7 separate regions of the Homo sapiens genome follow, and all the other regions are linked to region 5. Evidence: promoter capture Hi-C in 16 types of primary human blood cells and fetal thymus (Javierre and others, 2016). All regions are on one chromosome and are shown on one strand. Each heading gives the region's core, a stretch centred on a gene start or on the middle of the fragment in contact. The rest is flanking DNA. Distances are from core to core; before and after follow the strand shown.

What was found. The method cuts DNA at HindIII sites, captures the fragments that hold promoters and counts their contacts. A CHiCAGO score of 5 or more calls a contact.
Region 1: a fragment that was not itself captured here is called in contact with the fragment with the promoter of ZBTB2 in region 5 in 4 of 17 cell types (naive CD4 T cells, total CD4 T cells, activated CD4 T cells and 1 more); the score reaches 6.5 in naive CD4 T cells.
Region 2: a fragment that was not itself captured here is called in contact with the fragment with the promoter of ZBTB2 in region 5 in 7 of 17 cell types (naive CD4 T cells, fetal thymus, total CD4 T cells and 4 more); the score reaches 14.1 in naive CD4 T cells.
Region 3: a fragment that was not itself captured here is called in contact with the fragment with the promoter of ZBTB2 in region 5 in 4 of 17 cell types (non-activated CD4 T cells, total CD4 T cells, naive CD8 T cells and 1 more); the score reaches 7.4 in non-activated CD4 T cells.
Region 4: a fragment that was not itself captured here is called in contact with the fragment with the promoter of ZBTB2 in region 5 in 6 of 17 cell types (total CD4 T cells, naive CD4 T cells, naive CD8 T cells and 3 more); the score reaches 10.5 in total CD4 T cells.
Region 6: a contact is called between a fragment that was not itself captured here and the fragment with the promoter of ZBTB2 in region 5, in 6 of 17 cell types (total CD4 T cells, non-activated CD4 T cells, naive CD4 T cells and 3 more). The highest score is 13.8, in total CD4 T cells.
Region 7: a fragment that was not itself captured here is called in contact with the fragment with the promoter of ZBTB2 in region 5 in 11 of 17 cell types (non-activated CD4 T cells, naive CD8 T cells, total CD4 T cells and 8 more); the score reaches 21.1 in non-activated CD4 T cells.

What each region holds. Positions count from the first base shown.
Region 1 is chr6:152,317,221-152,320,681 of GRCh38, reverse strand. SYNE1 (spectrin repeat containing nuclear envelope protein 1) reads left to right here. Exons shown (of 146, transcript NM_182961.4): 85 at 1,667-1,819; 86 at 2,419-2,601. Among named protein-coding and RNA genes, the nearest start is that of SYNE1-AS1, 62 kb to the left of the region's middle. The HindIII fragment of the contact is 2,676 bases long and covers 855-3,461 here.
Region 2 is chr6:152,274,886-152,278,094 of GRCh38, reverse strand. SYNE1 (spectrin repeat containing nuclear envelope protein 1) reads left to right here. Exons shown (of 146, transcript NM_182961.4): 98 at 1-6. Among named protein-coding and RNA genes, the nearest start is that of SYNE1-AS1, 100 kb to the left of the region's middle. The HindIII fragment of the contact is 7,041 bases long and covers 1-3,209 here.
Region 3 is chr6:152,334,916-152,338,079 of GRCh38, reverse strand. SYNE1 (spectrin repeat containing nuclear envelope protein 1) reads left to right here. Exons shown (of 146, transcript NM_182961.4): 76 at 1,063-1,239. Among named protein-coding and RNA genes, the nearest start is that of SYNE1-AS1, 44 kb to the left of the region's middle. The HindIII fragment of the contact is 183 bases long and covers 1,792-1,974 here.
Region 4 is chr6:152,247,554-152,250,800 of GRCh38, reverse strand. SYNE1 (spectrin repeat containing nuclear envelope protein 1) reads left to right here. Exons shown (of 146, transcript NM_182961.4): 105 at 1,539-1,640. Among named protein-coding and RNA genes, the nearest start is that of SYNE1-AS1, 130 kb to the left of the region's middle. The HindIII fragment of the contact is 965 bases long and covers 1,061-2,025 here.
Region 5 is chr6:151,390,269-151,393,552 of GRCh38, reverse strand. It overlaps ZBTB2 (zinc finger and BTB domain containing 2), which reads left to right and starts at 1,994. Exons shown (of 3, transcript NM_020861.3): 1 at 1,994-2,133. LOC124901232 (translation initiation factor IF-2-like) reads right to left here. Exons shown (of 3, transcript XM_047419613.1): 2 at 3,081-3,284; 3 at 1-2,848. The coding sequence ends at 1,949. RefSeq lists an enhancer at 1,109-1,981 and silencers at 1,963-2,022, 2,033-2,422, 2,503-3,284. The HindIII fragment of the contact is 3,903 bases long and covers 774-3,284 here.
Region 6 is chr6:152,229,811-152,233,234 of GRCh38, reverse strand. It overlaps SYNE1 (spectrin repeat containing nuclear envelope protein 1), which reads left to right. Exons shown (of 146, transcript NM_182961.4): 113 at 970-1,119; 114 at 1,668-1,844; 115 at 2,533-2,688. Among named protein-coding and RNA genes, the nearest start is that of SYNE1-AS1, 150 kb to the left of the region's middle. The HindIII fragment of the contact is 1,358 bases long and covers 823-2,180 here.
Region 7 is chr6:152,294,958-152,298,052 of GRCh38, reverse strand. All of the region lies in intron 93 of SYNE1 (spectrin repeat containing nuclear envelope protein 1), which reads left to right. Among named protein-coding and RNA genes, the nearest start is that of SYNE1-AS1, 84 kb to the left of the region's middle. The HindIII fragment of the contact is 5,328 bases long and covers 1-3,095 here.

The DNA.
Region 1 (3,461 bases), core at 943-3,442, 930 kb before region 5:
CTAAAAAACAAATATTTTTGTTTCTTTGAGAAGAAATGCATAGTCCTTTTTGGTGTTGAGACCAGAGTGAGATTTCTGTCTCTGGTCTCATGAAGAGCACAATTTCATGTAGTGAAAATAGGCTCAAATATCATCTGTATGGAAATATAATAGATTTTTCGGACTCTCTTGGTGGCTTAATGCTAAAGCTATTAAAGTTTAATGAAAACCCTTCTATATGAGACAAAGAGAAGACATACTACAATTCTAAATTGCTACATGAAATAGAAAGTAATATCCCATTGTACAAACTGTAAAACTCATACAGTTGTGCTCTACTTTTGGAATCTTCAATGTATGATGCAAAGTGTTTTAAAAATCTCATCAAAATCTGATCCTACTGCATCATGACTTTGACCTAAACTACTGATAAATGCTCTTTACTATTTTAAGTATTTAATTGATATATTTGGCTTTTCTTCTTAGACATTGGAAGATCTACTGGGAAGGATGACTTGGCAAGTTCATGGTCTTTTTATATTTTTGAGACAGAGTCTCGCTCTGTCCCCCAGGCTGGAGTGCAGTGAAACAATCTCAGCTTACTGCAACCTCCTGGGTTTAAGCAGTTCTCGTGCCTCAGCCTCCCAAGTAGCTGGGATTCCAGGCATGCACCACCATACCCGGCTAATTTTTTGTATTTTTAGTAAAAAGAGACAAGGTTTTGCCATGTTGGCCAGCCTGGTCTCAAACTCCTGGCCTCAAGTGAGCTGCCTGCCTCAGCCTCCCAAAGTGCTGGGATTACAGGTGTGCACCTCTGTGCACAGCCATGGTTTTTCTTTGTTTGTTTGTTTGTTTTTTTAGTTAAAATTTAAGCTTTTCTCTGGATTAATTTTCCTATCATAGCCTTATTCATATGTATTTCATTTACTTTGACACTCAAAATAATGAAGGCCAAAACACACCATTAACTCTCTTTTAATGGTGTGTTTTCTCCCTACTAAAGAGGTTTTTTTAAAGACCTTTAACTACATAAAGAAATGTTTCTTCTCTTTAATGTCTTTTCTTCGGCATTTTATTCTAAGCAACAGTGTGAATGTTTGTTATCAAATCAAACCAAAGTCACTGGAAATTTGTAAATGCGAACTGTCTTTTTTCACCTTCCTTTCCATTGGATGTACTTAATGCTTGGTTGGCATACTATAGAGCTGTAGTCGGAAAGTTACAAAAAGAGTTAACAGATCATTAAGAGTCATTTATTAAAAGGTGCTTGGAAACAAATCAGTGTGCTTCCAACTGTTTGGGAGGATTTTCCATCTTATGAAGAAAAAGGCTTAGAGGAGTTTGTGTGCTCAAGGTCATTACGTTAGTTAATGGAGAAGATAGGATTCAAACTCAGCTGTCTACACAACCATCTATAATGAGTATTCTGTAAATATTTAATAAGTGAATTTCTCTACACACATTGCTTGTATCTTTGCTGGAACACAAGGAGTGCAGTAAATACTTAAAGATAGTGAAGTCAGGGAAAGCCAGGAGGGCTTGTAACTAATCGCACATCGCTGGTGTGACCAGGTGTTTCAATGCCAAAGCAGTTAAAATGTGTCTTGTCAACATCATTTGAGATTTTTAGTATCTATTATTCACTTTTAACCATGGCTTGTTTTGCTGTTCTTACTGATTTTTTTAGATCCAAGACAAAATAAAAGAAGTTGAGCAGAGCAAGGCCACGAGCCAGGAACTCAGCCGGCAAATTCAGAAGTTAGCTAAAGACCTCACAACTATTCTAACTAAGCTGAAAGCGAAGACAGATAATGTAGTTCAAGCTAAAACTGACCAAAAGGTAAGAAGTAGAATTTTAAAGGGTACTACTGAATGAATTAAATAGTTTTTGGAGTCAGTTTTACTTGGGGATATAGGATAAAAACCTTTTAGGAACCTTTTTTAAAACCAAATAGTAACAGCAGGTGGTAAAGAAATTTTGTAACTGAAGCAACACAGATCCTCTTACATAATTGATCATTATAATTGAACAGTATTAATAAATATACATGCATGAGTGTGTACGAAAGAAGAGCGTCAAAGGACTAAGTGATGATTTAGGAATACAAGTATATAAATTCCAAACTGAATTGTGTCCTTGGTAGCTAAATCTGTGTTCTTCCTCTGTTGATGAGTTCAGGGACTCTAATCCTTTTTGGGTGGGGCAGAAGGAAAATGTTAGCCTTCTCACTCAGCCTCATAGGAAATAAACACCAGCATTACAACATATCCTGCCCTGCCTTTCCAACCGAAGAAACAAAAATGACCTGATCATAGTAGAATTATAGTAGAATTATTCATTATAATATTTGGCTTTGACAAAAATCAGTCTGATCTCGGGAAACCTGGAGAAATTTATTTTCTGTACTCTAATGTTCTTTCATTTTGGTGACCATCAAGGTGCTGGGAGAGGAATTAGATGGCTGTAATTCAAAGTTAATGGAATTAGATGCAGCAGTACAGAAATTCTTGGAACAGAATGGCCAACTGGGTAAGCCACTGGCCAAGAAGATAGGAAAACTGACTGAACTTCACCAGCAGACCATTAGACAAGCTGAGAATCGGCTCTCCAAGCTCAATCAGGTATGTGTTCCGGGCCAGAAATCCAAATCGTGTAAGGCAGAAACTTCCATGTTCTGCTTTTCTCTTTTGAAAATAAATTAACATAAATAAAAAGATAAAATGGACAATGAGAGAGTAGTTTAGGTGTAGCTTATTTCATGCTACACTTGTGATCCTAAGACTTAGGTATAAACCAGCACTTACTTTATATCCAGCCATATGATAAAGTCACTGACAAAGGTGGTCCTACAAATGGACTTTGGAGTGAATATTTTGTAAAATGGAGAAGTATTTTGTAGAATGAATATTCACCCATTAACGTGTTTTATGAAATCAGTTTGGGGTGAATTCAAGTACCTTTAAGTAAGCTACATATATATCAGCTTACGTTGACTTAATAGATTCAGATTGCACGTCTGTAATAATTGTTGCATATAGACTAGACTTTTGAAATCGATTAATATAATCAGGGACAAGTTAAAACCAGGAGTTGGTAACCCATTAATTATAGTTTGAAACTTTGCCTGCTAGAATCCCCACTTGCCACCTCCTTACCCAGGGGAGGGTGAAGGAAGGGATAGAGGAAGGCCTGGCATGGTGGCTCATACCTATAATCCTAGTACTTTGGGAGGCTGAGGCAGAAGGATCACTTGAGCCTAGGAGTTTGAGACCAGCCTGGGCAACATGGTGAAACCTACAAAAGATTCAAAAATTTAACAGGGCATGGTTGGCACGTGCCTGTGGTCCCAGCTACGTGGGAGGCTGAGGTGGGAGGCTGAGCCCGTAAGATTGAGGCTGTAATTAACCATGATCCAGCTGCTGCATTCCAGCCGGGGTGACAGTAAGACCTTGGAAAAAAAAAAAAAAGAAAAAAGAAAAAA
Region 2 (3,209 bases), core at 31-2,530, 890 kb before region 5:
ATGCAGGTGAGGGTTCCAGCCGCTGGCCCACAGCTGAAAGTTGGCACACTGTTCACGTGCTCCTTCTAAGGTTTGCCAGGTAAAGGAACAGGTTGGCGGTGACGCGTACTTGTGTGTGTACCTGCTTTACGCTGACATTTTAGCATGCAGCTTTAAGTTTACACTCTTGGACTTTGGCAAACATTTGCAAATAGATTTTGTTAGGACTACTAACAACAGCTGTTCAGCGGAGTGGTGGAGGCAAAAAGCACTCTGACATGAAAGTAACAATGAGAGGAGAGGAACTGGAGAGGGAAAGTAAAGGCTACTCCAGGAGTGTTGCTGTAAAGTGGTATATAGAGGAATGAGATAAGCTATAAGGAGAAGTGGGTCAAAGAAAATTTTATCTCTTTTTTTCTTTTACATTCATCACAATTTGAGTATTTCATTTTAAGATCAGAAAAATAATAAGTTTACACGTTGATGGAAATAACTCAATAGAGGAAAAGTTGGTGAAAAAGGAATGTGGGCAGGGCGCCGTGGCTCACGCCTGTAATCCCAGCACTTTGGGAGGCCGAGACAAGCAGATCACTTGAGGTCAGGAGTTCGAGACCAGACTGGCTAACATGGTGAAACCCCATCTCTGCTAAAAATACAAAAAAAAAAAAAAATTAGCTGGGCCTTGTGGTGGACACCTGTAATCTCAGTTACTCGGGAGGCTGAGGCAGGAGAATTGCTTGAACCTGGGAGGTGGAGATTTCAGTGAGCCGAGATTATATCACTGCACTCCAGTCTGGGCGACAGAGCAAGACTCTGTCTCATAACAAAAAAAAAAAAAAAAAAAAAAAAAAGAAAAAGAAAAAGGAGTGTGATTGCAAGAACAATCTTCTTGTTGGGGAGGAAACGGATAGGATAAAAAGTACACAGGCCAGGTGCGGTGGCTCACACCTGTAATCCCAGCACTTTGGGAAGCCAAGGCTGGCAGATCATGAAGTCAGGAGATGGAGACCATCCTGGCTAACACGGTGAAACCCCGTTTCTAATAAAAATACCAAAAATTAGCCGGGCATAGTGGTGGGCGCCTGTAGTCCCAGCTACTTGGGAAGCTGAGGCAGGAGAATCTCCTGAACCTGAACCTGGGAAGCAGAGGTTACAGTGAGCTGAGATCGCACCACTGCACTCCAGCCTGGGAGACAGAGGGAGACGCCGTCTCAAAAAAAAAAAAAAAAAAAAAAAAGAGTGCAGAGTTTGGTCTTCCCTACCCTTCTTGCTAAGTAAGCCAGGGACCAAATAGTTTAGAAGCCCATTAGCTGCCCCAACCCTATAAGCATCTGATGGTATCATCTGCTCCTTCTTGTGGCCTAATCCAAACTGTGCCTTCCTTTACCATTTACACCTTTCTCCTGCAATAATGGTTGAGACCAGGCCAATCTGTTCTCCAAGTAAAATGAGGAGGGAGGGAAAGCATCTATGTTGGAATACAAATACTGGTAGGAAGTAGGACATAAATATTGTTAACGGAAACTTCATGGAAGTTCACTGTGATTGCTTCTGTTTTCTCAGTGTGAGGATGATTGTTAGGACTAACCTATGTATTTTTTTTTTCGGCTTTTTGCTGATGATATGATTATATGATATGGAAAACCAAACTTAATCAACTAAAAACTATTTAGAAGCAATGGAGAAATTTAGGAAGATGACTGGCTTATTAAAAATATGAAGTTAGGTCATTGAAAAGCATAAAAGAATCCAACAAAAAATAAAAATTAAAAAATGAAGTCAGCCGAGCACAGTGGCTCACGCCTGTATCCCCAGCAATTTGGGAGGCCAAGGCAGGTGGATCACCTGAGGTCGGGAGTTTGAGACCAGCCTGGCCAACATGGTGAAACCCCATCTCTACTAAAAATACAAAAATTAGCCGGGTGTGGTGGGGCATGCCTGTAATCCCAGCTGCTTGGGAGGCTGAGGCATGAGAACTGCTTGAACCTGGGAGGCAGAGGTTGCAGTGAGCCGAGATTGTGCCACTGTGCTCTAGCTTGGGCAACAGAGTGAAATCCTGTCTCAAAAAAAAAAAAAAAAAAAAAAGAAGTCGAGAATTTATAGTTTTTACATAGACAAAAAACAAGTTAGAGGAATAATGTAATATCCCATATAAAATTTTGAAAATGAAGAGTTTTGAGGGATTATTAGTCTTATCATATATGTGTGTGGATTTTTTTTTGTTTTTTTTTTTTTGAGACAGGGTCTTGCTCTGTCACCCAGGCTGGAGTGCAGGGACGCAATCTCAGCTCATTGCAACCTCTGCCTCCCAGTCTCAAGTAATGCTCCCACCTCAGCCTCCTGAGTAGCTGGGACTATAGGCGCGCACCACCTGCCTAGCTAATTTTTTTAATTTTTTGTAGAGATGGAGGTCTCTCAATGTTGCCCAGGCTGGTCTTCAACTCCTGAGCACAGGCAATCCACCCACCTCAGCCTCCCAAAGTGCTGAGATTATAGGCGTGAGCTACCATGCCCGGCCAGTCTAATCACATATTAAAATACAATATTACAATAATTAAAATAGTTTGGTGTTGGCGCAATAAATATGTGAACAGAAAATTAAACAATAACTATTCCAGAAAGAGATTTGGTATGTAAAGGAATTTGATAAATATTTTAGGTGGCATTACAAATCAGTGGACAAAATATGACTCACTCTGTAAATAATCACTTGAAACGTGATAAACTGTATTTTCTACCCCATATTTTACAGAAAAATGTATCACAGGTGGATCAAAGATTTCAATATAAAACTTAAGTCTGCAAGGTACTCAATGTATGATTTTTTTTTTTTAATCTTAGGATAGGGAAAACCTTTGCCAGTATACCCCAAACCCATAATTTTATAGCTTCTTTTAAACTAATACATTGGCAGGGCTTGGTGGCTTATGCCTGTAATCTTAGCAGTTTGGGAGGCTAAGAAGGGAGAATTGCTTGAGCCCAGAAGTTCAAGACCAGCCTGGGTATCATAGCAAAACCCCATCTCTACAAATAATAAAAACATTAGCCGGGCGTGGTGGCACACGCCTGTGGTCCCAGCTACTAAGGAAGCTGGGATGGGAGAAGCTGGGAGGAGGTGGGAGAATCCCTTAAGCCCAGGTGGTTGAGGCTGCAGCGAGCTATGATTGTGCCACTGCACTGCAGCCTGGGTGACAGTGTGAGACGCCAACTAAAAAAATAAACAAATGGGC
Region 3 (3,164 bases), core at 634-3,133, 940 kb before region 5:
GCCTCCCACATTCAAGCAATTCTTGTGCCTCAACCTCCCGAGTAGCTGGGACTACAGGCACACACCACCATGCCTGGCTACTTTTTGGTATTTTAGTAGAGAAAGGGTTTCACTGTGTTGCCCAGGTGGGTCTCGAATTCCTGAGCTCAGGCAATCCACCTGACTTGGCCTCCCAAAGTGCTAGGATTACAGACACGAGCCACCATTCCCAGCCAATGTAACCCATTTATTTTTACAGAAATGATTTATTGAAACAAATTACACAGCTTCAAAAACCAGTGAAGCAGATCAAAGACATATCCAAAACATTAATAATTCAGCATGTTGTAAGACAGATGAACAAATGTGCAACAGAGAATAACAGAAGTCTTTTCTAGTTAACCTTAACACCAAATTCATGAGTCATACAGATGAATCTACTGAAATGCCCAATGGGAAAAACCATCAGAGCAGCTTTAGACCTAATACATTGATAAAACTTATTAGAGTTTCGCTGGGCGCAGTGGCTCACTCCTGTAATCCCAGCACTTTGGGAGGCCAAGGCGGGCGTATTATCTGAGGTTGGGAGTTCGAGACCAGCCTGACCAACGTAGAGAAACCCTGTCTCTACTAAAAATACAAAATTAGTTGGGTGTGACGGCGCAAGCCTGTAATCCCAGCTACTCAGGAGGCTGAGGCAGGAGAATCACTTGAACCCGGGAGGCAGAGATTGCTGTGAGCCGAGATCGTGCCATTGCACTCCAGCCTGGGCAACAAGAGCGAAACTCTGTCTCAAAAAAAAAAAAAAATTATTAGAGTTTCACAACACTGATTAAAACCATATAGCATAACTTGTAGACATTTAAAGTCTTTAGGAACCCTACATTTTTTTAAAAAAAATCTGCTTTTCCTGAAGCAAATAAAGAAGTACTTTTTAAATTTATGTATTTGTGTGTGTGAGTTTGCGTGTGTATGTGTGTGTCAAATGAGTGCACAGGCCAGCTGGAAAGTTCCATCTCTGATTCATTAACCATAAATGTTTCCATGTATGGTTGCTAACTTTTATCTCTGTGTTTTCTCAAGATTGAACAAAAGCTTGTCCAGGCCCAGAACTTAACTCAGGGCTGGGAAGAGATCAAGCACCTGAAGTCTGAGCTCTGGATTTACCTGCAAGATGCTGATCAGCAACTGCAGAACATGAAGAGGAGGCACTCTGAGCTGGAGCTGAACATTGCACAGAACATGGTTTCACAAGTTAAGGTGGGAATTAATTTGCCCCCAAGGGAGATAAAAGAGGCCAACAGAGTAGAAAACCTGAAATGTGTTCAGTGTATTCACTTCAATATGCCTGAGTGTCTGTCAATCCTTAGACATTAATACAACTCTTTAAGGCAGAGGTCCCCAAGCCCCAGGTTATGGACAAGCACAAGTCCATGTCCTGTTAGGAACCTGGCCGCACAGTGGGAGGCGAGCAAGCATTAATGCCTGAACTCCACCTCCTGTCAGATCAGAGGCCACATCAGATTCTCATAGGAGTGCAAACCCTACTGTGAACTGCGCATGCAAGGGATCTAGGTTGCATGCTCCTTATGATAATCTAACTAATATCTGATGATTTGAGGTGGAACAGCTTCATCCTGAAACCATCCCCCTCCAGCCCCATTCACGGAAAAATTGTTTTCCACAAAACCCATCCCAGGTGCCAAAAAGTTTGGGGACCGCTGCTTTAAGGAATAGCAAATCTGAACAAACATCATTTGGTGCCAGGGAAAACAGATTATAAAGTAGACATTCAAATATATTACTGAAGCTTCAGATGGCCACTTTCATCAGAAGACATTCATACTCTACATTATTCCTGAGAAAAGCAGGTGTGATTTAGTCTACAGAGTAGACTGCTTAGTCAGAAAACTCTGTGACTAAGCAAACATGGAACATTATTCTTTTTTTAGATTTTCATCACCATATTATGCTAAAACTGTAGGACTGTAAGCTTATCAATTCATTAGTTATATATTTGAGCTATATGTAATTAATTTAAAGTATAATATAAATGCAGTTTGTATTACATATTTATATATAATTTAAATAATTTAAAATATATAGGAAATTGTGGCCGGGTGTGGTGGCTCATGCCTGTAATCCCAGCACTTTGGGAAGCTGAGGTGGGCAGATCACTTGAGGCCAGGAGTTTGAGACCAGGCTGGCCAACATGGTGAGACCACATCTCTATTAAAAATACAAAAATTAGCCTTGCGTGGCACATGCCTATAATCTCAGCTACTTGGGAGGCTGAGGCACGAGAATCATTTGAACTTGGGAGGCGGAGGTTGCAGTGAGCCATGATCATGCCACTGCACTCCAGCCTGGGCCACAGAGTGAGACTCTGTCTCAAAAAAAAGGGAAAAAAGAAAATTATAAGTGTATTAACTTAATTGGAAGTTGGGTCAGATTTTAAATAAACTTAAAGATGTTTTTTCTCTGTGATTATGAGTCAATAATAATATATTGTCTACTGGAGTGCTGTTTGCAAGTACAGAGAAAAAAGAGAATAGGGATCGGGATAATAAGATTTATTTTTTCTCAGAAGCATGAACTCTTTTTTAAAAAAATTTGTGAACCATCCTAGAAATTTAATTTTTTAAAATGTATTTTATAAGAAAAGTTTTGTTTATTATAAAAGGCTTAGAAAATACAGAAATGTCTTAATAAGCAAATTTAAATCACAATCACTTATGATACTACCATTCAGAGATAATAAACAATGCCAATATTTTGCTGTATTTGTTTTAGATATACACATAATAAAAACATTCAAGATGATACTCTTGTTAACATTTTAATTGTGATTGAACCTAGCTTTAAGGACAAAATTTCATATATCAGTCAGGGGATTTAAGAGGTGTTTTTTGGGTAGTGGGAGTAAATGGCAATGGGAGTGAGCAGTGGGGAAGTATGGAAGTCCATGAACCAACCCCTTGGAGGAAACACTATCCAAAGAAATGATCCTCTGGCCACATATTGGGCTGGCAGAGATGGTATCTTAGAGGTTTCTTTTTGCTGTGTATGCAGGGAGTAGATGAATCTAAACCATTGCCTTTCCACTTTGCGAATGTACTCCAGCCTTCCCCAACTCTGTACATAACACCACTGCCCACCTGGTGACCCAAGCTACTTTGCCTTGT
Region 4 (3,247 bases), core at 294-2,793, 860 kb before region 5:
TGCAGGACATCTTTTACTAGGTTTAAAAACAGATAAATGTGTGATGGTTTTAATGGCCCACGTGACCTTACTCTGAACACAGTTGAATGATACAGACCTAGTAACTCATATGTAAAACTATTGTTTCTAGGATTTTTCCAGGGCTGTTATTATAATTTCCTATTTAGTTAGCCACTAGACTTGCAGATTGCTTTGAGTTTTGGTTAGTGGCAACTATTCTAGTTCTCATGTTCAGCGCTATATTTTCAATTTTATAATTTTTACTGCATAATGCACCCATTATTTTGCTTTTTAGACCTGAATTTACATTATAAAGCCTTCACATGTTCTTATAGATGTTTTTCTTCCTTGGTACGATTATCCTTCCACTCATTAGACAGTCAGAATGTTTGCATGTTGGTGATGTGCGTGATCAGGCCCTGGTAAAGAGGTCCTGAGTTGAGCTTTAACCTCTGACAAATATATTTTTGCTGACTATTATGAAATAGAACTTATTTGTTGATATTTTAGAGAAAAAAATACATTTTTTTGGTAATTTTTTTTTTTTGAGATAAAGTCACCCAGGCTGGCATGTAGTGGCGTGATCATAGCTCACTTCAACCTCAAACTCCTGAACTCAAGGGATCCTTCCACTTCAGCCTCCCAAGTAGATAGGACTACAGGCATGCCACTGTGTCCACTTATTTTTTTTTTAAACTTTTTGTAGAGACCGGGTGCACTGTGTTGCCCCGGCTGGTCTTGAACTCCTGGCCTCAAGTGATCTGCCTCAGGCACCCAAAATTCTGGTATTACAGAGATGAACCACTGCACCTGGCCAAAATTTTTTATAATTTAAATATTCTTCTAATTTATTATTCCCTGTGGAATTAAGTACCAAAGTTCTGATAGTTGTCTCCTTTTTATACAAATCTAACTCAATATAAATATATTTGGACATTTAAATGAGTAATATTTTTGAACAAAATACCTAACAAGATCTTTTTGTGTTGTCTCTTCACATGTTTTTGGCCATCATGGATAATATTTATTTTCTAAACTTCTGGATGGCTTTTTTAAAGCTTGTGCAAATTTTCCAAAAATAGAAGAAGAAACTGATGGAGGGAGGGAAGAAGAGGAGAGAGCAAAATGGAAATCATATGATTCTTAAGTATCATATTATTTCCCAAATCAGGATAACACCTATAGGTTATTTCCCTAGATAAGAGCCACTAATATAATATTTCTGTGCAATGTTTGACTGTGCTCATTTATTTCGGATGTAATGAGATTAGGGTGACAAGCGTTGCTTTTTACATGTATGGTTCAACTTCATTTGTGTTATGTAGAAAATACTTTGGGTAACAGATTCTTCAGGAGTCAGTTTTAGCACATAAGTAAATTGTTACCAGTTCCTTTTACCTTCCCATAGCACAGTATTGTTTCTCCTGGAAATTAAATTTCTGTGCCTCTATGTTATTTCTTAGAATCTGTGTTATATTTACAAGTATTTTGAATTCCCTGTTACACATTTTGAGTTTTCCCGTTGCTTTCCTCCTTAGAATGATCTGAAAGTGCTGTTTACATCACTGGCTGACAACAAATACATCATTCTGCAAAAACTGGCAAATGTGTTTGAACAGCCCGTAGCAGAACAAATAGAGGTATTTATAGCTGCCTTTTCCTAGAAGAGAAAATGCATAGAGGAGATATGACTTACTATGAAATTTTGAATATTCTATGAAAGATTAATGGCTCACAGTGGCACTTTTGTTTGTAGTATTTTTGTTTTTGAGTACTGGGTTTGAATAACATACCAGGTGACATTGACTCTGTTACTTACATCTGCACAGAACTAGGAAATGTGAGCTGGGAAAAGGTATCCATGGCAGATGCTGACCTGAAGGAGTTTTCTGCCCAATGATGAGATTAGATATGAACCTCAATGACATAGGGCAGAAAGTCAAACTGTCCTGGGAGTGGTACTGACAAAGCATTATGGGTACTCAGACCCTTCTGGCCTCCAGCAGGGGTAGGATTAGGGAAGCTTTGTAGAGGGAAATTTGAACTGAACCTAAGAGTTTGGACACACAACAACAGGAAAGAAAGATATCACGGTAAAGAGGACAGCAAGAAAAAAGGCACAAATTGTTAGAGAATTCTGAGCACTTAGGGAAAAACACAGGTAATTCTATTTTAGCTGAATTTAAGATAAATGAAAGTGACTGAGGACAAACAAGATTGGATATGTAAATTTAAGGCAGTTTGTAGGGCCTGTTGAATGTGTGACTTTGGACTTTATTCTATAAACTAGTTACCTGTACACTTTATTTGTTGCATGCCTCATTAGCTAAAAAAAAAAGGAAATAAATATGCAGCATAAGTGTATGTATTTTTATTTATTTATAAATTATAAGCAATTTATGTTATAAATCACAATTAAATTCAGCCAAATTTATTTTCAATTTTTGTTTGTGTACATGCTACAACCAAAATTGAAAATTAATGTGGTTGAATATAAATGAAAGATGTGGTGTTTCATCCTGGTAAATCATCTTGCACACTCTTGGGTGTTTAGACTCAGCTGGGAGATCCCTGGCCATGGAAAGTTGTAGGGGATGTTTGCAGGTAAAAATGAATGGCAGTTCTAGATCTTGCTTCTGGTTAGTTTACATGACAGCACCAGGGTCAGGAAACAGGAGATCCATCATGAGGCTTCATGTAGCTGTACTGGAGAGAAAGAATGAGAACCCAAACTGGCATGATGGCATGAAAATGCAGATAGAAGAAATGGGAGGGATGTTAGAATATCTCCTGTTTCATAAGCTAAGTAATTGTGAGAAGTATGTGTTTTAATAGAATTCTCTGATTTAATTTCAGCGAACTTCCCGGGAATCTATGGATAGACGATAGAGAATAATCTGACATATAATATGTGTGTGTGTGTGTGTGTGTGTGTGTGTGTGTGTTAAAGAACACCTCTCAAAATAGTTTGCAAAACTGTGAGTGTGCATTTTTCTTTTTATTTATTTTTAAAAATATATGTGTGTGTGTGTGTGTGTGTGTGTGTGTGTATATATATATATATATATATATAATAAAAAATATATATTTTAATATGGAGATAGGGTCTCACTTTGTTGCCCAGGCTGGTCTGGTCTTGAACTCCTGGGCTCAAGCAGTTCTCCCATCTCAGCCTCCCAAAGTGTTGGGATTACCGGTGTGAGCCACCGCATCCGGCTGTGCATTTTTCTTGACCATAATTTCATCT
Region 5 (3,284 bases), core at 745-3,244:
TCCTAAATTCGAATAGCAGCTCTTAAAGAGAATAGGATGCTCTTGATAGGCTTTCTTTAGGACTGATATTCAATTTCTGGGCTTACCCCTGGGTTTATTTCTACAAGCCTATATAGAGTGTAACGCTAGAAAATATTCAGTGATGTTAAAAATAAGCATAGTTACTTTGACTCAAGACCAATTACTCTACACACACAGGCAAATTTCTGCCCAATGGTCTCAAGTTTAGCATTAGTTTTGCCCACTTTTTCTTTTATTCTTAAGTCAGTTTCACTCTTCACATGAGCACTCCACCAACACCATAAGGTTGAAAATTTTCAGAATGGAATTCCAAAAGAATTAAGAACCTACAGATCTCTAATTACAATTCTCTACAAAACAATCAACATCATTTTAGTTCCCTAGTAAGATGAGACAGACCTCAATACTCAAGCCAATCCAAGGAACCAGGCACCAGTCTGAAGGCCAACTTTGATATTCCAGTGACAGCGGTGCAGTAGAATACTTAGATCAGGGTCAGAATTTGGTTTTGGAGGCAGACATTTACCCACTAAAGTCATTTATCTAGCTGATCAAAAAACAGGAAAGTTCAAAGCGAGTATACACTGAATCTATTATCCATTTGAGAGCCACTGAAGCTACACAGCTGCTTATTTTGTCTTCAAAGAAGGAATTAGTCATCAGTACCTGCAGGTATAACTGGATTTCTAAATCAAACTCAGATTTTTAGGAGGGACACTTCTATGTATTAAATTGTCTTAAGATGGTAAGCTTGCCTTAAATGATTTGTAAACTATGTGCCAGGCATTGTGCTAGTGGTCAGACTGTGTAAACCAAAATGGGTTAGACATCACAACCAAGTTAGCATGCCTTGAAACCAGAGTATCCTAGAAACTGCTGCCTCCACTTCCTTAGGAATAAAGCCATATCCTTTCTAAATCTCAAAAAATCCTAGATGTGTAAAGAAATCATTAAATTCTAGTCCTCAAAGGACTGTATTTCCCCAAAAAAGACACGGATTCTAGAAAAATGGCAACAACCAAAAAGTAAACTTTAAAATGTTAAAAATGACCATCAGGAAATTCTAACTTCCCTGCCATGTTTCCGTGTTTCAGGATCTCCCCGTTAAAAGATTTTCCACACCTCTAAATCTAACAGAATAGCCAACTCTGGAATCCATACCTCAAAGACCAAAACCTAACAGGAGAATAAACTGTTCTCTTAACAAACATGCGTTGCAGACTTTCATTTTTGGGGGGGCCAAAACTTCAAAAACGAAAATCGTTGCTGAAATAACCATGAAATTCAACCCTAACAGAAACATCTTACGCCGCTCAACTCATCTGCAAGGTAAAGGAAGCACCTCTGCCTCTGTGCACGCTACAGGAATCTGTACTTCAGCATGACTTTCAGTTACCATTGGTGACACAAAGATACTGCTGGTTTACAGTATCTCCCCGGTTCTAAAGGCCACTCCATTTCAAGTCTTAAAGATTAAAACAAACACGAAAAGTCAAGGGACAAGGGTAAAGGCCAAGAGATCTCAAGCAGAAGCCGGCAGAAGGATACGAGCAGTGGCTCTCCATCTCTACCCCGAGCATCTCAAGGACTTGTGCTACCTAAACACTTTATGTAAACAAGGGGCTTGTGACTCAGGCCTCCAGCCCCAATAGGTGGAGAGAAGTTTCCTCGCCTCGGCTGCACATGGTCTGCAGAAGTTTGGCTGGAGCAGAGCGCGGAGCCTGGGTGGGAGCGGCAGTGGAGTGCTGCAGGCGGCGGCGGCGGCGGCAGAGCAGCAGGAGGCGGAGGCGGGCGGGGGGAGGGGAGCGGCTGGGGGGGGGGCGGAGGGGGCTCTTGCCGCCACTGCTCTCTCGCCGCCTCTCCCCCCCGGCGGGAGCCGCTCGCAGCCTCTTTGCACTAGTCTCTCCGCTCTCTCGGTCATGTGACCTTAACGTAACCGGACAGGAAAAGCCCCGCCGCCGCCGCCGCCGCCGCGCCGGAGACACCGACCGCGGCGGCAGCAGCAGCAGCAGCAGCGAGAGGCAGAGGCGGCGGCGGCGGGGAGGACAGCACGGCCGAGGCTGCCCAGAGGCGCCTCCTCCACACCCCCCGCCGCAGCAGCACCGGCGACAGGTAAGCGCGCACCGCCTCCGCCTCCCGGGGCCGGTGCCCACGTGCCACCCCCAGCCCAGGGTCCGGGAAGGCGGTGGGGGGGCGGGGGCCACCGGAGCTCGCAAACGGTTCCGGCAGAGGCGGTGGCAACAAAGACGACGAATGACCCTCGTACCAGGGCTACGGGTGCAGGCAGGCGGAAGGCCCGGGCCACTCGGGGACCCGGTTCTGGGAAGCGAGGGCAGGGGCGCCTCGCGGGGGCGGCGGCGGCTGCGCCTGGCGCCGGGGCTCTGGCCGCTTGACAAAACCATCCCCCGGAGCCAGGCGGCGGCGAGTCGGCGGCGCCTCCATCCGGGGTTTTGTGGGAGGGGGAGGGGACGGAAGCCGAGAGGGCGGGCGGCGGATCGGAGGGAGGGTGGGAGGGAGGAAGGGGAGGGGGGCGATTCGCGTTCGGTTCCCCGTGGCCGGTCCCTCCCTTCCCGCCGCCACCGCGAAGTGCGCCCTGGGCGGCGGCGGCCGGTGAGCGTCCCGCGCTGGAGCCCTCAGAGGCGGGCCCGTCAGGTGCGTAATCCTTCCGACGCCTCGCCGCCGCCTCCTGCTGCTGCCGCCGCTGCTGCTTCGGCGGCAAGGCCGCGAGCTGCGGAAGTGGGTTTGGGGGAGGGGAGGGAGGAGGGAGGGGGAGGGGAGGGATCCGGTCCGACCGGAGCAGGCCCGGCCTCTCTGGCGCTTCTCCCAGCTGCAGCGGCTCCTACAGCTGCTGCCGCTACTGCTGCGGCTCCGCCTCCCGCTCGCGGGCGGGGGCGCGCACGCGCGCTTCCGGCCTCCTCGGGTCTCGCGCTGTCTCCGGCTCTCGCGCGCGCTCATCCCTCTCCCTCTCTCCCTGTCTGGGCCACCCCCGCCCCCGGCGCCGGGGCTGTTGCGCCGGCCGGGGCGTTGCGCACGGCGTAGGCGTCGGCATTGTGTTAAACTCCGCGGGACTTGGGGCGAGCGCGCGCGCGCACGCGGGACTGAGGGAAGCGGCGAGCGTGCAACGCGGCCGGAGTGCGTCGCCCCTCCCTCCCCCTCAGCCCCTCGGGGACGGGGACAGGGAGGGGGCGGGGCCGGCGAGACCGGAGGGGGCCAGAGGGCCCCGGCGCCGCGCCCCCGGCCCCGCCCCGGGGCGGGTGGGACGA
Region 6 (3,424 bases), core at 252-2,751, 840 kb before region 5:
TGGCTTTGTTTAAACTCTGTTTTGTCTCAGATAAAATGTGGACAGTTACATACACTTTTCTCATAAAGTGAGTGGTTATGAAGATTTAGAACGTAATATATGTTAAAAATATCTTATGTATAGGAGAGCAACTGGCATTCAGTAGATGTAAATAATCCTCTTATCTGAAAATACACCCACCTCCCCTGAAATCCCAGAACATTTTATCTTTATCTCTCTTTGACACTCATCACTGTGTTTCAGGCAGGATAGCTGTGTTTTGTGTACATGCCTAATCTCTCCTAAGCAACAGCTGTGCGCCCCCAGAGGGCAGGAACCAACCCACGTTCATTGCTATATCTTTCAGCACCACACAGAAGTTGATATACAAAGATTTTAAATGATTGCTTTTGTTCCTCCAAATCATCGTAATACACATATGCATAAATGTGTGATATGTTAAGTAAGATTTCGAATTGTAAGTAGTGTATATCAGCTAAGGGCTGAGGAAATTGGCTATGTTCTTAGGAATAAAGATTAGAGTGCCAAAAACTCTAGAAAATGATAGCTTGTAGTGTGGTATTTTTCTTTCTTCTTTTAACATTCCTGAGTCATAATATGCAGAGATTTTACAAGATAATTAATAAAATACATCTGTTGAATGTTTTCTGGTTAAGTTTTTTTAGACTCATAAAACTAGTTATAAAATAAGAATAATATTCTCTTCTTTCTGGTGCTTTGATTAATTAGTTAATGTTTATACAGTGTTTACAGTATTGGATATCAAGTGAACATAAAATGACTATTATTCCTCAACATTTGCCTGATGTTTAACTTCAAGCTTTCAGAAAGGGTAAGATCTCCAAATGTCATTAAGGAGTGTTATCTCTCTTGGTACATTTTTAAGAATTATTGTAGGGTTTTTAAGTTAGCAGAAGTTGGGGTTTCCATTTTAACACTTGGGACTGGTTCTCTCCCTGACTTGGACAGCTCCAGATGGATAAACTGCCTTCCCGCCATGCCATTTCTGAAGTCATGAGTTGGATTTCTCTAATGGAAAATGTTATTCAGAAGGATGAAGATAATATTAAAAATTCCATAGGTTACAAGGCAATTCATGAATACCTTCAGAAATATAAGGTAATTAAAATTTTTTGTTTTTAACTTTTCATATTTTCAGACCATTTTATTTGAAAGAACTAAAAAACTCAAATTATGGTAATCAAGTCTTGGAATGTATGTTTCCTACACAGTGACCAGATAGGAATTCAATAGCAAGAAAAATGCATTATCAGTTATAGAAATAAGAAGAAATATCCAGTACTAGGAATGATTTTGAATAATTTTGTGTTATTAAAGAATTACAGAAATTATAAAAATAAATTTATAAATATTTTATAGTGAGGTTATATAATTTATCTAGTTCTAAATCTTCTACCTAAATATATATATACACACACACACACACACATACACACGTATATCTGTGTTTATGTTCATATAAACGTATACAAATATATATTCGGCTTCTAAAAATAATGGGTTGTGTGAACACAGACAAATTGTGCCATTTCAGCTGAGTTATGGAAGTGATAATATTAATATTAAGGTTACTTAAGGCTTTCCAACTCCTGGAAAACTAATGAGACATTTATTGTATAATCTTATTTTCTCCTCTTTTTTTTTAGGGTTTTAAGATAGACATTAACTGTAAACAGCTGACAGTGGATTTTGTGAACCAGTCCGTGCTACAAATCAGCAGTCAGGATGTGGAAAGTAAGCGTAGTGATAAGACTGATTTTGCTGAGCAACTTGGAGCAATGAATAAAAGTTGGCAAATTCTGCAAGGTCTAGTAACTGAGAAGGTAAGCCAGTGGCTTCCCACTGTCCAGATTTACATGAAAACCCCAAGAACAGGCACACTCTGTAAGGAAGACTGGGTTCACAAGTAGCGTGGCTATACTGGGCAAAGAACGCTTCCAATAATACCGCTGAAGGTTAATCACCCTAAACTTCCTTTAACCTGTTGATGATTTTCTCTTATACATTCTCTGCTCTTTGTATATTTTATGGTGTTTCAGTTTTCTAAAGATGCCTCTTGATTTATTTTGCCTTTGCTTCAAGTTGACTTTAGTCCTTTCTTGCTTCCCAGTAATAGTCATTGATTCATACTTTATGAAATTCATTTATTAAATCAAGCTTGCCCAGCCCGCGGGCTGCATGCGGCCCAGGACGGCCTTGAATGCAGCCCAACACAAATCCGTAAACTTTCTTAAAACATTATGAGATTCTTTTGCAATTTTTTTTTTTTTTAGATCGTCGGCTATTGTTAGTGTTCGTTTATTTTATGTGTGGCTCAAGACAATTCTTCTTCTTCCAGTGTGGCCCAGGGAAGCCAAAAGATTAGACACCCCTGTTTTAAATCATATATACGATGAACTGTATTTTAAGAATTCTTAATTTGGAGAAAATACTGGCTAGAATAATTAGTCTGCTAATGATTTGATTTTATTAAAATAAAGTTGCAAATTTCATTTTATTGTGTTTGTTCAGATCCAGCTGTTGGAAGGCTTATTGGAATCTTGGTCAGAATATGAAAATAATGTACAATGTCTGAAAACATGGTTTGAAACCCAGGAAAAGAGACTAAAACAACAGCATCGAATTGGAGATCAGGCTTCTGTTCAAAATGCACTGAAAGACTGTCAGGTAACTTGTCCAGGTGGCTAACATGCACCATCTCACAATTTCATAGCGTATGCTAATATGTTTATAGGCCTTGAGAGTTGCAAGTTAAATATTTTTTTAAATATTTAAAAGTTGCATTTAGTAACAAATTTTGCTGATTTTGTGAGTTTATAGGGTTTTTTTTAAAATACATTAGGTTTTTTTCACTCGTTTTTAAAAATTTGAAATTATGAAAATTTTCAAACATACTCGTAAGTAGAGAGAAATGCTATGAACCCTGTATACTGAGCATCAGATTTAATAATTGTCAAGATTTGCAGCCTGGGCAACATGGTGAAACCCTCTCTCTACAAAAAGCTACAAAAATCAGCCAGACGTGGTGGTGCTTGTCCCTGTAGTCCCAGCTACTCAGGAGGCTGAGGTGGGAGGATTGCTTGAATTCAGGAGATCGAGGCTGCAGTAAGCCATGTTTACACCATGGCACTTCAGCCTGGGTGACAGAGTGAGACCCTGTTTCCAAGAAAAAAAAAATTGCCTAAATTATTTCTTTTTCTAAAATAGATATCATAGTAAATACCAGACATCATGTCACTTTATTCTTACATACAATATATATCTTTGAAAAATAGACATTTTCTTAATGCATCCATATTATTATCACCACCAAAAGTTTAATAATTTCTAATATTATTTTATGTTCAACGCATAATCCTATTTCCTCGGTTGTCTTTAAAATTTCTTTTATATGTTAACTTAT
Region 7 (3,095 bases), core at 423-2,922, 900 kb before region 5:
CTTAGGCACATAAGCAATGAGAAACGTATTTGTAACAGTGACTCCTCACTACATCAAGTATTGACTTTAGTAGTTATTTATAGTACTGAGTGATTTATTTTAATTCAATTTATGTATGTACCTCAAATAAATAGAAATTATTCATCTATAAAAGGTGACATATTTTCAAATCCTTTTAAGAAACCAGGAGTTGTCATTCATATCTGTAGGCATGAGCCACGTGCGCGCGCACACACACACACACACACACACACACACACACACACACACAGAGTGAGACTGCCAGAAAAAAATTATTTGTAATAAATTTATTTTATTCTAGCTCTTTTGGGAGCCTTCTGTATTTATAATAGAGTATCTAATGTAAAATGTTTACACCATTTAAAGGCATTCCTGCTTTTCCTTATGGACAGTAATAGTATTACTTTACATGTATATAAAATAATAGAATTTATATAAGTGCATTTACAAGCATGATTTATTATGAACATATAGGCCTGCCTGTTATTTGCCAAACACTCCACAATGTGCTCAGGATGAAGACGAAAAGCAGTGACCCAGACAGCCCTTAGGGAGCTTACAGTGTGTGTGAGGACAGGCAAATGCTTACAAGAGAAGGTGGCAGGTAGTGTGGCCGAGGGCAGTACAGTGTTGTGGGAGGGCCTAGAGAAGGCACCTAAACTGGCTGGAGTCAGGCAGAGGTCAAGGATGGCCCCCTTTAGTTTTAAGGGAGGAGCACAGTTAGGCAGTTGGAGTGCAGTTGGGTCGTGTGAGATGAAGATTTTCAGGCAGAAGAAACCACCTGTTGGAAGCTGTGGAGGCGGGAAGCAAAATGGCCCATCCAGGCAACTGCAAATAGTTTCAGTGTAATTGGAGAAACATTGGAGGAGGAGGAGAGGGGGAAATGAGACTGAGAGGGATATGGGAACCACATCATGGAGGCCCTGAATGCCACAGGAAGGAATTTCAGCTTCCTCCAGAAGCTAATATTTAACCACTGAGGGAATTTAATGAGAAGCTGTGTACAGAACTGATACTTCTGGATCAATGTGGACAGGAGAATAGAAGTGTGCAAATTCAGAGCCAGGGGAGCTGTTAGAAACAGAAGTTACACAGTCTCATGCTTGGTCCACCCTGGTGATAAAAATGAGAGAAACAGGCCAGGAGGGACTACAGAGGCCAGGAGGGACTACAGAGGCCTGGACAGCTCCTGCTCCACATAAATGAGGCAATGTCTCCTCTGTTAGCATTACTTTAACAAAGACACAGGGCCCAGTGTTACCATACCTTGTGGTTTGCAAAACAAGCTACGAATGTGAATTTTAATGAAATCTCTCTATCTTCATGAAGAGAGATTTTAAACAATTTAAAACATTGTATAAGCCACACTAAATATGTGCAGGTCAGAGGCAGCCCACAGGCTGCCAGTTTGCAACCTTTGAGTTAGGAAGCTGTTACTGTAATGAGAACTTGAACCAAGGCTGTGGCCAGGATATGCATCGTTAGCACTCCATCCTCCCATAAGCAGTGGATGTTAAGGGGGAGGAGAAATCAGGAATAAATCCCAAGTTTATAGCTTAGGTGAGAAGACATTCCATTTATTGCAAGATGGATAATACTTCATTGTTTTTTCCTAAATTGGTTCCTTTTGGAAATGTTGACTTTGAAGAGCCTACAGGATATGCATGAACATCTGGATATGTGAGTCTGGAGCTTATCAATTCACCAATATTGGCGAGTGAGTGGAAAACAAACTATAAAAGAGAAAGAGTGAATGACTAGAAAGCTGGGAGGAGAACAGAGAGATTTTTTAGAAAGTGTTTCCGGAAAGGGTTTGTCAGTGCTATTGAATGCTAGAGGTCTGGCAAGGGAAGGGATGAAAATTCATCATTTTTTGTCAAAGAGAAGAAGCTGGTGAGAGCAAGCTCTGCAGTCATCAGGATCAAAGTCCAAACTGGAATTTAGAAGTGGATCGAGGGTGAGAAAGTCCCATGAAAATCACCCTTTCAGAAGTTGGATTATGAAATGAAAGGGAGAAAACAAAGAAATTAGGATGGAGCCTGTGTGTGCAAGTGCATTCACGTGTGACGATCCGTCACATTGTGAACTGTGGACTTTTTAGAAAATGTGATATCCTTCAAGAAAACAAATAAAAGAAACAGTGCGTGCAGGTGTTTTTGGATGGAAGAGAGAAAGTCAACAAAGCCAGAGAGGATGTTAATAGACCAAGATCCTTGAAAAAGCAGTTTATGGGATTCTCAGAGTCTGTGGGAGAGTCAGGTTTAAGCAGTGAAACTGGAAAGCATAAGATAAGGGTGAGTGTGAATATACATAGACTTTTGAAAATTTGAGAAGTTGCAGTATCTCCTTGACAGCTTGGATTGCATGTGTATGTGTGTGTGTGCGTGTTTGTGTGTGTATGTGTGTGTGTGTGTGTCAGTAACACACACACATGCATAAATGACTCTGGATTGAGTCATGTTTGCGGGTTTCCAAGTGGATGAAGTAAAGGTTAAAAGAGCAAGAGAAACAAGAGTCTTGGCAAGAAAGGGGTTTAAGTAACTTCAGACATAACTACAAGTCCAGCTGAGCGATGACAGCATACAAGGGTGTGGAGGACTGAAGTGGGGTGGGAGTGAGTGAGGATCAATGGATCTAAAGCTATTAAGGACATGAAGAGTAATCCACTCAAGACAGTGACAGGGTTAGGAATAAAGAGGAAGCAGTCTCCATGTTCCAATATCATCAATAAATGTTGGGGACTCATCTGGAGACCTCAGGAACAACAACAAAATGGGTAGAAGCTGTCATAGTCACTCAAATATTATTTCATATAATCCTCAATCCCACCCAAGATTGGACCAATGAGTGAACCAGTGTGCAAGATATAAGTTATTTGCTCCAATTATATAGCTACACAAGAGGAGAATTTCGCTAGAATCTCAGCTGTCCCAGTCTGAATTCATTCTACCGCATGACACTGCTACATTTGTTTCTCAGACGGCTGGAGCCTTCTTCAATACTTTTTACCAATACATGATTCTCAATAAGACTCAGGTATTTTAAGCTGACATAATTCCCTTCAACAGTACAAC